3 separate regions of the Homo sapiens genome follow, and all the other regions are linked to region 3. Evidence: promoter capture Hi-C in human tissues and cell types (Jung and others, 2019). All regions are on one chromosome and are shown on one strand. Each heading gives the region's core, a stretch centred on a gene start or on the middle of the fragment in contact. The rest is flanking DNA. Distances are from core to core; before and after follow the strand shown. Region 1 overlaps TRAF7 (TNF receptor associated factor 7). Region 2 holds the start of CASKIN1 (CASK interacting protein 1). Region 3 holds the start of ABCA3 (ATP binding cassette subfamily A member 3).

Evidence for each region. The method cuts DNA at HindIII sites, captures the fragments that hold promoters and counts their contacts. A contact is called where the count stands out against the background at its distance.
Region 1: a contact is called between a fragment that was not itself captured here and the fragment with the promoter of ABCA3 in region 3, in 3 of the 25 tissues and cell types used here (bladder, dorsolateral prefrontal cortex and lymphoblastoid cells).
Region 2: a contact is called between the fragment with the promoter of CASKIN1 here and the fragment with the promoter of ABCA3 in region 3, in 4 of the 25 tissues and cell types used here (heart left ventricle, liver, lymphoblastoid cells and 1 more).

The regions. Positions count from the first base shown.
Region 1 is chr16:2,163,539-2,166,523 of GRCh38, forward strand. TRAF7 (TNF receptor associated factor 7) reads left to right here. Exons shown (of 21, transcript NM_032271.3): 2 at 345-463; 3 at 2,341-2,398. The coding sequence starts at 383. Among named protein-coding and RNA genes, the nearest start is that of TRAF7, 9.2 kb to the left of the region's middle. RefSeq lists enhancers at 1-433, 843-1,616, 1,617-2,389. The HindIII fragment of the contact is 6,093 bases long and covers 1-2,985 here.
Region 2 is chr16:2,194,845-2,197,927 of GRCh38, forward strand. CASKIN1 (CASK interacting protein 1) reads right to left here and starts at 1,761. Exons shown (of 20, transcript NM_020764.4): 1 at 1,495-1,761. The coding sequence starts at 1,588. The HindIII fragment of the contact is 36,898 bases long and covers 1-3,083 here.
Region 3 is chr16:2,339,453-2,342,346 of GRCh38, forward strand. It overlaps ABCA3 (ATP binding cassette subfamily A member 3), which reads right to left and starts at 1,276. Exons shown (of 33, transcript NM_001089.3): 1 at 1,121-1,276. It also overlaps the pseudogene ABCA17P. RefSeq lists silencers at 897-956, 1,127-1,586. The HindIII fragment of the contact is 11,234 bases long and covers 1-2,894 here.

The DNA of each region.
Region 1 (2,985 bases), core at 379-2,878, 180 kb before region 3:
GGAGGTGACTGGCTGTGACTCAGGACCCAGAGGAGTAGAGGGAGCCAGGCAGGGGTCCCTCCACCTCGGGGAAGAGCTGGATGGGCTCTTCGGGAGCTCAGAAAGGCTAAGCCTTGAGGGACGGTGACGCAGAGCCGCCTGCCTGCCCGGGCCTCTGCATACCTGGGATCGGGGTGAAGGACCTTTGCCTCCTAGAGGCCTGCCTGAGCCGGGGCTGGTGGTGGAAGGCTGCTGCGGCGGCCCCACGGTGCCCCACAGCAGGTCTGCACACTTGCAGCAGCCCGTCTGACTCACAGGGGCCTGGGCTCCATCTCTCAAGCCCCTCATTTGTGCTCCACCCACAGGAGGTGCTTCCCAAGGACCGTAGATGCCTCTCTAGAGCATGAGCTCAGGCAAGAGTGCCCGCTACAACCGCTTCTCCGGGGGGCCCAGCAATCTTCCCACCCCAGACGTCACCACAGGGGTAAGGGTGTGCCCCTCTGCAAGCCCAACATCCCCAGGACCCCCAGCATGCCCCAGGGATCTGGTGTTGCCTGCAGAGCTCCCAGCGCAGTCCCGTCCCGAGCTGGGGTCTCAGGGGAGCTCGGTGGGGGGGGGTGTGGTGTGTGTGTGTGTGTGTGTGCGCGCGCGCGCGCGCGCGCGCACGCGTGCGTGTGTGGTTGGGGCGTGTTAGTGCTGTGTGGCGCGGCCTGGTTGCATGGTTAAGCGTGTGAGTGCTGCGTGGCGCGGCCTGGTCGCATGGTTAAGCGTGTGAGTGCTGCGTGACCTGGCCTGGTCGCATGGTAAAGCGTGTTAGTGCTGCGTGGCGCGGCCTGGTTGCATGGTTAAGCGTGTTAGTGCTGCGTGGTGCGGCCTGGTCGCATGGTTAAGCGTGTGAGTGCTGCGTGGCCTGGCCTGGTCGCATGGTTAAGCGTGTTAGTGCTGCGTGGCCTGGCCTGGTCGCATGGTTAAGCGTGTGAGTGCTACGTGGCCTGGCCTGGTCGCATGGTTAAGCGTGTGAGTGCTGCGTGGCCTGGCCTGGTCGCATGGTTAAGCATGTTAGTGCTACGTGGCGCGGCCTGGTCGCATGGTTAAGCGTGTTAGTGCTGCGTGGCGCGGCCTGGTCGCATGGTTAAGCGTGTGAGTGCTGTGTGGCGCGGCCTGGTTGCATGGTTAAGCGTGTGAGTGCTGCGTGGCGCGGCCTGGTCGCATGGTTAAGCGTGTGAGTGCTGCGTGGCCTGGCCTGGTCGCATGGTTAAGCGTGTTAGTGCTGCGTGGCCTGGCCTGGTCGCATGGTTAAGCGTGTGAGTGCTGTGTGGCGCAGCCTGGTCGCATGGTTAAGCGTGTGAGTGCTGCGTGGCCTGGCCTGGTCGCATGGTTAAGCGTGTTAGTGCTGCGTGGCCTGGCCTGGTCGCATGGTTAAGCGTGTGAGTGCTGTGTGGCGCAGCCTGGTCGCATGGTTAAGCGTGTGAGTGCTGCGTGGCCTGGCCTGGTCGCATGGTTAAGCGTGTGAGTGCTGCATGGCCTGGCCTGGTCGCATGCTGAAGCGTGTGAGTGCTGCATGGCCTGGCCTGGTCGCATGGTTAAGCGTGTGAGTGCTGCGTGGCCTGGCCTGGTCGCATGCTGAAGCGTGTGAGTGCTGCGTGGCCTGGCCTGGTCGCATGGTTAAGCGTGTGAGTGCTGCATGGCCTGGCCTGGTCGCATGGTTAAGCGTGTTAGTGCTACGTGGCGCGGCCTGGTCGCATGGTTAAGCGTGTTAGTGCTGCGTGGCGCGGCCTGGTCGCATGGTTAAGTGTGTGAGTGCTGTGTGGCGCGGCCTGGTCGCATGGTTAAGCGTGTGAGTGCTGCGTGGCGCGGCCTGGTCGCATGGTTAAGCGTGTGAGTGCTGCGTGGCCTGGCCTGGTCGCATGGTTAAGCGTGTTAGTGCTGCGTGGCCTGGCCTGGTCGCATGGTTAAGCGTGTGAGTGCTGTGTGGCGCAGCCTGGTCGCATGGTTAAACGTGTGAGTGCTGCGTGGCCTGGCCTGGTCGCATGGTTTAGCGTGTTAGTGCTGCGTGGCCTGGCCTGGTCGCATGGTTAAGCGTGTGAGTGCTGTGTGGCGCAGCCTGGTCGCATGGTTAAGCGTGTGAGTGCTGCGTGGCCTGGCCTGGTCGCATGGTTAAGCGTGTTAGCGCTGCGTGGCGCGGCCTGGTCGCATGATTAAGCGTGTGAGTGCTGCGTGGCGTGGCCTGGTCGCATGGTTAAGTGTGTGAGTGCTGCGTGGCCTGGCCTGGTCGCGTGTTAGGCATGTGAGTGGGCTCCACATGTGCACGTCCTCCTTGTGTCCCGGAATGAGGCCAGGTCTCCTCCGTCCTCCCTCTAGACCAGAATGGAAACGACCTTCGGACCCGCCTTTTCAGCCGTCACCACCATCACAAAAGGTGAGCCCTTAAGCCAAGGCCAGCCCAGGCTGGGAATAACCGGGGCACCCCCATGCCCACCCTGCTAAGGACTGAGGGACACTTCCCGGTGAGCTGGTGTTGGGTGCCAGTGCTGGGCGCGGGCAGCCTCACACCGCAGCCTGTGTCCTCACAGCCTCTCAGCCCTGGGCCTCCCCACTGGACAGGAGTCGGGTGTCCTGCTCCTTGTGCCTCGGTGACTGTGCTGTGCCCTCTCTCCCTGCCCTCTTCATCCCCTCTAGGGAGGCTTGCCCTGACATCTCCAGCACCACCACACAGCCCTGTCCCTTGTCACAGTGATCCCCAGCTTGTCCCCAGTCTCAGGCTCCTGGCCAGCCTCCGAAAGGTCCCGTGTGCCCGGAGGTCTTCTCTTGAGTTTGGCCCTAGGGCTTCAGTAACAGTGCTGCAGTTGTGACATGTTAATAGGAAGGGAGGGAGAGTGGAAGAGATCCATAAGTCTGGTTTGTTTTTTTGAGACGGGTGTCACTCTGTCACCCAAGCTGGAATGCAGTGGCGCAATCTTGGCTCACTGCAACCTGTGCCTCCTGGGATCAGTCCTGCCACCTCAG
Region 2 (3,083 bases), core at 511-3,010, 140 kb before region 3:
CAGCCCCTGGCCCTGGGCCGTCCAAGACTGCGGTCATTGCTGGCATTTACTGAGCACTTACTGAATGCCTGGGCTGCAAGTGCCCAGGCTCACTGGTCTTAGGACCCCACCGTGAGGCTGACATCCCATCCTACAGACGAGGAGACTGAGGTCCACTGAGCTGGAGTTGTCTGTGTCCAAGGTCATGCGGCCACTAGGTGGAAACCTTTACCTTGCCTTCCCTCAATCCCTACACCTGCTCTCCAGGCTCAGCTGAGGCTGCCTCTGCCCACAAGCTCTCCCTTTCTGAGCCCCCGGACCTGAAATCAGCTCGGGGCCAGCCTGCAAGGCACCGGTGCCCCCTCTCTCTTACTGCACAGAGTGGACAGGAGCTAGCCAGTCATGGGCTGCTGGTGAAGTACGGGGGAGGGGGTCCTCCTGGGACTCCTAGGTGCCCCCAACAATCTCCCAGAAGCCAGTCCCAGTTCTCGGCATCCCCCTGGAGGAAGGGGAGGGGGACTCTCTGGCTTACAGTCTGTGGGGGTGGAGGGAGGAGGGAGGACGCCCAGACCCCACGTGCCGACCTGCAGAGCCCTGTCCGTGCCCGCACAGGTGCCCTGACACACTGACACGGCTATACGTGCGCAGCCGCACACGCGGCTGGTCCACACGCCCATCCATCCATCTCCGGCGGCCCCCAGGGAGGCTACGCGCTGAGCCAGGATGAGTGCTGGGACCAGGGCTCCAAGCTCCCAGCCCTTTCCTGGGGCCGGCCATAGGGCAAGCTGGGGATGGCCAGTGGTGGTCCCCCACTCCCTCATGGCCTCCTTTCCCAGCAGGGAAGCTGGAGACCCGGCTCTGCTGGAGCCTGCCTGAGCAGGGCCCCAAGCCCTTGCGCCCAGGCCGGCCCTGCCTGGAGTCCAGCCTGCCCTGGGCTGGGCGACCTTGGGCCTCTGCTCTCCCATCAGTAAATGGCACCCCACCGGCCATGCCAGGGCAGCCACACCCCCAGCGTGGTCCTGCCCCCACCTTCCCTGCAAAGCGTGTTATTAAACGTGGGGCGGGAGGGGGTCTGCTAGGGACTGTCACCTCCCGGGTCGCCCCTCGCCGCAGGGGCCCCCTCCCTGTCTTCCCGGTGCGTGTGGTGGGTGGGGGGGGCATCCGCCTCGCCCTTTGAAGGCCCCAGCAGAGACCTCCAGCTGTCAGCCCGCAGCCTGGGAAGGGAGGGGGACAGAGGTAGAGAGAGAGGGATGCGAACGCCCGCGGCCCGGGAGGCGGGTGCCGCCAGGTGCCCGCTGCGGGGCTCACGGTGGCGGCCGGCTCTCGGGGCCGCCCCATCTCCAGTGCTGGGGGCAGCGGGTGGAGGGCACGGACCAAGGGTCTGGGCGCTGCTGGCCCCGCCCCGCCCCCGGGGACCCGACAACGTCCCCTCCCCGCCCGGCGCCGGGTGGGGGGCTCCGCGCCGGGGAGGGGCCCCCGGGGCTCCCACCCGCGCCCCGCGCCCCCGGCACTCACTGGCCTTCCCGGGCCGCGGCCTCTGCAGCAGCCTCTGCGCGGTCCCTACGTCCTCCGCCTTCACCGCCTGCACCAGCTCCTGCTCCTTCCCCATGGCGCGGCCGGGGCCGCAGCGACGCGGCTGCGCTCGTGAGCTCGGCGCGGCTCAGAGGCGGCGGCGGCCCCGCGGCACCGGCCGCCTCCCCCGCCGCCTCCCCCGCCGCCTCCTCGCCGCCCGCCGCCCCTTCGCCCTCCTCGGGCTCCGGCTTGGGCTCGGGCTCCCGGCGCGGAGGGGGCGGGGAGCGCGTCACGGGCGGGGGGCGGCCCGGGGGCGGGGGCGCGCGGCGGGCGCGGGGCGGGGGCGCGGCACCTGGCGCCGCCTCCCGGACGCCGGGGTCCGCTCCCGGGCCGCCGACCTCCGTCAGCCCGCGCCGGCCGCGCGCCCGGGCCCGTGGCTCCGCCCTCCCCGCGCCCGCCCCGGGACGCCCCCTCCCCACGTGCGCGCAGCGCGCTCAGGCCAGGCCTCTGCGGACGCGGGCGGCCTGGGGCTGCTAGCCGGGCTGGGGACGCGGCCGCCGGGGGTGCACTGGGAGCCCCGACGCGGCGGCGGCGCGGGGCTGAGCCCAGAGAGGCTTCCAGAGGCTGCGGGACCCGCGGGGGACGGTTCCGAGGCAGCGGGCGGGCGGGGACCGGGCGCCGAGAGACCCGGGCGCCAGTGCCCCTGGAGCCGGCCCGCCAGGCTGTCAGGCGTTCCTGGCCCAGGGTTCCCGTGGGAGGTGTCGAGGGATTGTGAAGAGGAATCTCCCAATAATGAATTCGGTGTCAGGGAACCCGCACCCCCAACCCCCAAGCATCCTCCTGCTCCTCTCCGCAAATAATGCGGGCGCCACAGCTTCCCCCAGCCTCAGTCCGAAGCCTGACCCCAAGGTAGCCCCCACCACCCCCACTGAGGGAGCTCAACTCCCCACTCCCCGCACCGACTGGGGGTCGCCTCCATCTCCATCCACAGGGGCTGGAACCTCCCGCCGGCACCAACCGACCCCCGGCCCACGTCTGCCCACTCTCCAGCCTGCAGCCCAGGCAGGCGAGTCCTGCTTCCTGGGTGCTGGAGGCCCCGACTTGTGACCCTCTGAGCTCCTGGCTGAAGGCTTGGGCCACCCTGCGCCTCAGGCCCTCTCCCGTCAGGCCTGCAGCATTCTAGAGGCAGATCAGTGGGGGTCTGAGTCCCGACTCAGGCTCCGTTTCCCTCATCACCCAAGCGGGCAAGGCCGTTTGGAGAATTTGGGGAGGGTCGCACCCATTCTATGAGGCATGGCCTGGCACCCCACTCTGTGTGGCCCCAGACCATTGAGCAGGTCCAGGGGGACAGAGGAGGTCAGACAGCAGGGACAGGGAAGGTGACAGGCACCGGGGTCCCGGCATCCTGTGGGCAGCTGGCCGTTCCCGTTCCCTCCGTGGGGTCTCCTGTTAGGTTCAGGTAGCAGCCCTTGGTCTTCCAGCACTCCTGGGAGGGGTCCCCAAATGCTAGGGCCTTTCCTCTTGCCCTTTCCAATGACCAGTTGAGTACCCGCTGGGTCAGGCACTGTGCTGGTCACCTCCTAGATGAGGTT
Region 3 (2,894 bases), core at 26-2,525:
ACATCCATTTTTATCTATTTTTCCCTTTCTCTTACATTTCTCATGAGGCAAACTTTCTAAAACAGTCTTAGTCTTTTCAAGTTTACAAAAGGCAGCGCCCAGACTATCTGAATAAAATGACGGGATGCCCAGGAGAAGAGTGAACCTCTCCCACGTGCTCCCTGCCTGGGCTCCATGCTGTCGCGGGGTCTCGGCTACTCACTCAGCGGGCATTTCTGGAGTTCCAGGAACACAAACCCCAACAAGATCCAATCGACGCCTTCCCGGAGTGCACAGTCCAGGACGTAACCCGGAGAACAAGCGGCAATTACCCCCTGAGGACATGGCTTCATCTGTGCGACAGACACCAAGCGCCTTCCCCACGCCCCTGACCATAAGGCCGTCCCGGCCCTTCTGAAGCGTGGAGCCGGCTTGGAACAGAGCCAAGACACACGGACGCGATGCACACAGGCGTCCTGACCGAGGGCGCCGAGAACGCGGCCTCCGGCGACTGCCACAAGCCCCTCCGCCTGGACTAGCGGCTCCCCTTTCCCGTTCCCACACAGTGGAGGGCGCAGCAAACGCCCGCCGCGGACCGTGGGCCTTGGATTCGGATTTGGAGGCTCCTCGGAACCAGAGGGTGGGAGCAGGCGGAATCCAACCCGGGCGGCTTTGCCACCGCGCGCCCGGCATCCCTGCGGCCGGAAAGCGGCGCCATCTCCGCAAGTGCGCGGCGGACGCCTGCATCCCTCGGGGCCGGGGCTGTCGGTCGCTACATATCCACCTTCTGGGCGCACACAGAGGGCCCGGGCCGTGCCGAGTCTCCGCAGGGTCGAGCTTCCCCGCGCGGCGCGGGCTCAGGCACTGCCCGCAGTGCGGGACACGCCCAAGGCTCGGATGGGAGCCGACGCTGAGGGAGCGGCACCTGCAGGGAGCGCCCGGAGCCGAGGCCGCGGCAGGAGGGGCGGGCGCGGGCGCGGCCGGAGGGGATGCGGGGTCGCGGGAGGGGCCCGCAGGCCAGGCCGGAGCTGGGGGGGGCCCGAGGCCCGAGCTGGCCGGCGAGGGTGGGAAGGGCGGACCCGGGTGGGGACCGCAAGCCCCGGGAACGAGCGCGCGAGCGGCGGGTCCCGGCGGCACTCACCGAGCCTGGGCGCCGGGGCGGCGGCGGCCGGCGCGCGGCCCTCTCGCGGGGTCCCCTCCCTCGGCCACCCGGGCTCCGCTCCAGCCTCGCAGTGGCGGCGGCACTGACAGCTGCGTGGCCGCCCTGGAGGGGAGGGTGCGCCTGCAACCCGCTACTGGCGGACGCAGCGGCCGCTCCGGCTCCTGCAGGGGGCGCCGCGGATGGCGCGTGCGCAGTCGGCCGCCCCTGCAGGTGCCCGGTCCACCCCCGGCCGCCTCGGCCGCTCCGGCCAGCCCAACCCCGCGCCTGCGCGGTGCCCCCTGCATGTCGCCCATGCCCGGCAGAGGGCGCTCTGACTTGCGCGTGCGCAGTCAGCCACCCTGCGAGTACGCGGTTCGCACCCGGCCGCGCGGCAGCCCGTGCTTGCGCACTGCTCTGTGCCCGCGCCTATGTCCAGCAGGGGGCGCGCAGCGGCGGTAGCCGAGCGAGGGCGCGGTGGCCTCTGACAGGAATGACTCTGCGCACGTGCGTTTCGCAGCAGTGGAAGTCTTCACACCCGGAAACTCGACTTTGGCCGTTTCTCCATTTCTCCTCACGCACTGTCTTTCCTTGGGCCCTCGTCACTCCTGGCACCGGGGGAAGGGCTTCCCCGCCTCTGGCCGGGCGCTGGGGCGCGACCGAAGGCGAGGCGGCGGCGAGGAACCTTCTGGAATTCGGCCGTCGGGGCAGGCGTCGAGTTTACAGGAGAAGGCGCGGTGTCCCGGGATGAGCGGAGTCGCCCTCACTTAAGGAGCGAGGGAGGCCTCGGGGGTCCCCAGCCGGGTAGGAGTCACCTCAGGCAGGAGGGCCCGGCCTTGTCGGGGTCACCTGGCGGGAGGGTCCCGGGGTGGGGCGGGGCCGCCTGTGAGGAGGGTCCAGAGAGGGTCGGGGTCACCTGAGGGGAGGGTGGGGGGGTTCGGGGATGGTTGGGGTCACCCGACGGGATGGTCCGGGGAGGGTCGGGTTCACCTGAGGGGAGGGTCGGGGAGGGTCCGGAGAGGGTCGGGGTCACCTGAGGAGGTGGTCCGGAGAGGGTCGGGGTCACCTCACGGAGCGAGCGGAACGGGGTCACCTGGAGGGAGTGTCCAGGGCGGGGGCCCTGCAGGGAGTCGCCTGCAGGGAGGGTCCCGGGCGTGTCACATTAGGCGGTCCCAGGGACGGGTCGCGGTCTAACGGGACGGGAGTGGGGAGGTGGGTCGGGGTGTCCCTGGGCCGGACCGGGTCGTGGGACTGGGTCGCCCCAGGCAGGAGAGCCTGGGAGGGGCGGGCCCCCTTGGCGTGGCAGGGAGAGGTGGAGTGAGGGACTCCCGGGCTCCAGCATGAGGGCGGGCGCCGCGCGGGGCCGACAGTTGCCGCGGGCCGGGGCCAATGGGTCCCCGAGCGCCGCCAGCGGCCGGACCACAGTGAGGTGCGTCCGTGGTCCCGGCGCCCCGGGTGAGGGAGGGCTGCTGCCGGTCCTGCCGCTGGGAGCCGCCTGCGACCCGCACCGCCAGCCCCGCGCCCAGCCAGCCGCCGGCACCACGACCCGACGGCCCCGACCTAATGCAACGCCCCGGGCCGGGGGCGGAAATCGCCCACCCCCAAGAGTCCTGATGGAGTAGGGTTTGAGCGGCTCGTTCCCCATTTTACTGTGTACATAGCACCTTTCACTCTGATGATGTTCTGGATAGCCCATTCCGCGAGCAAAGGGACTTCGTCAGGTTCATGCCTAGATCCAGGGTCCTAGAGTGCCTGGGGCGGAGGAGGCTCATGCTAA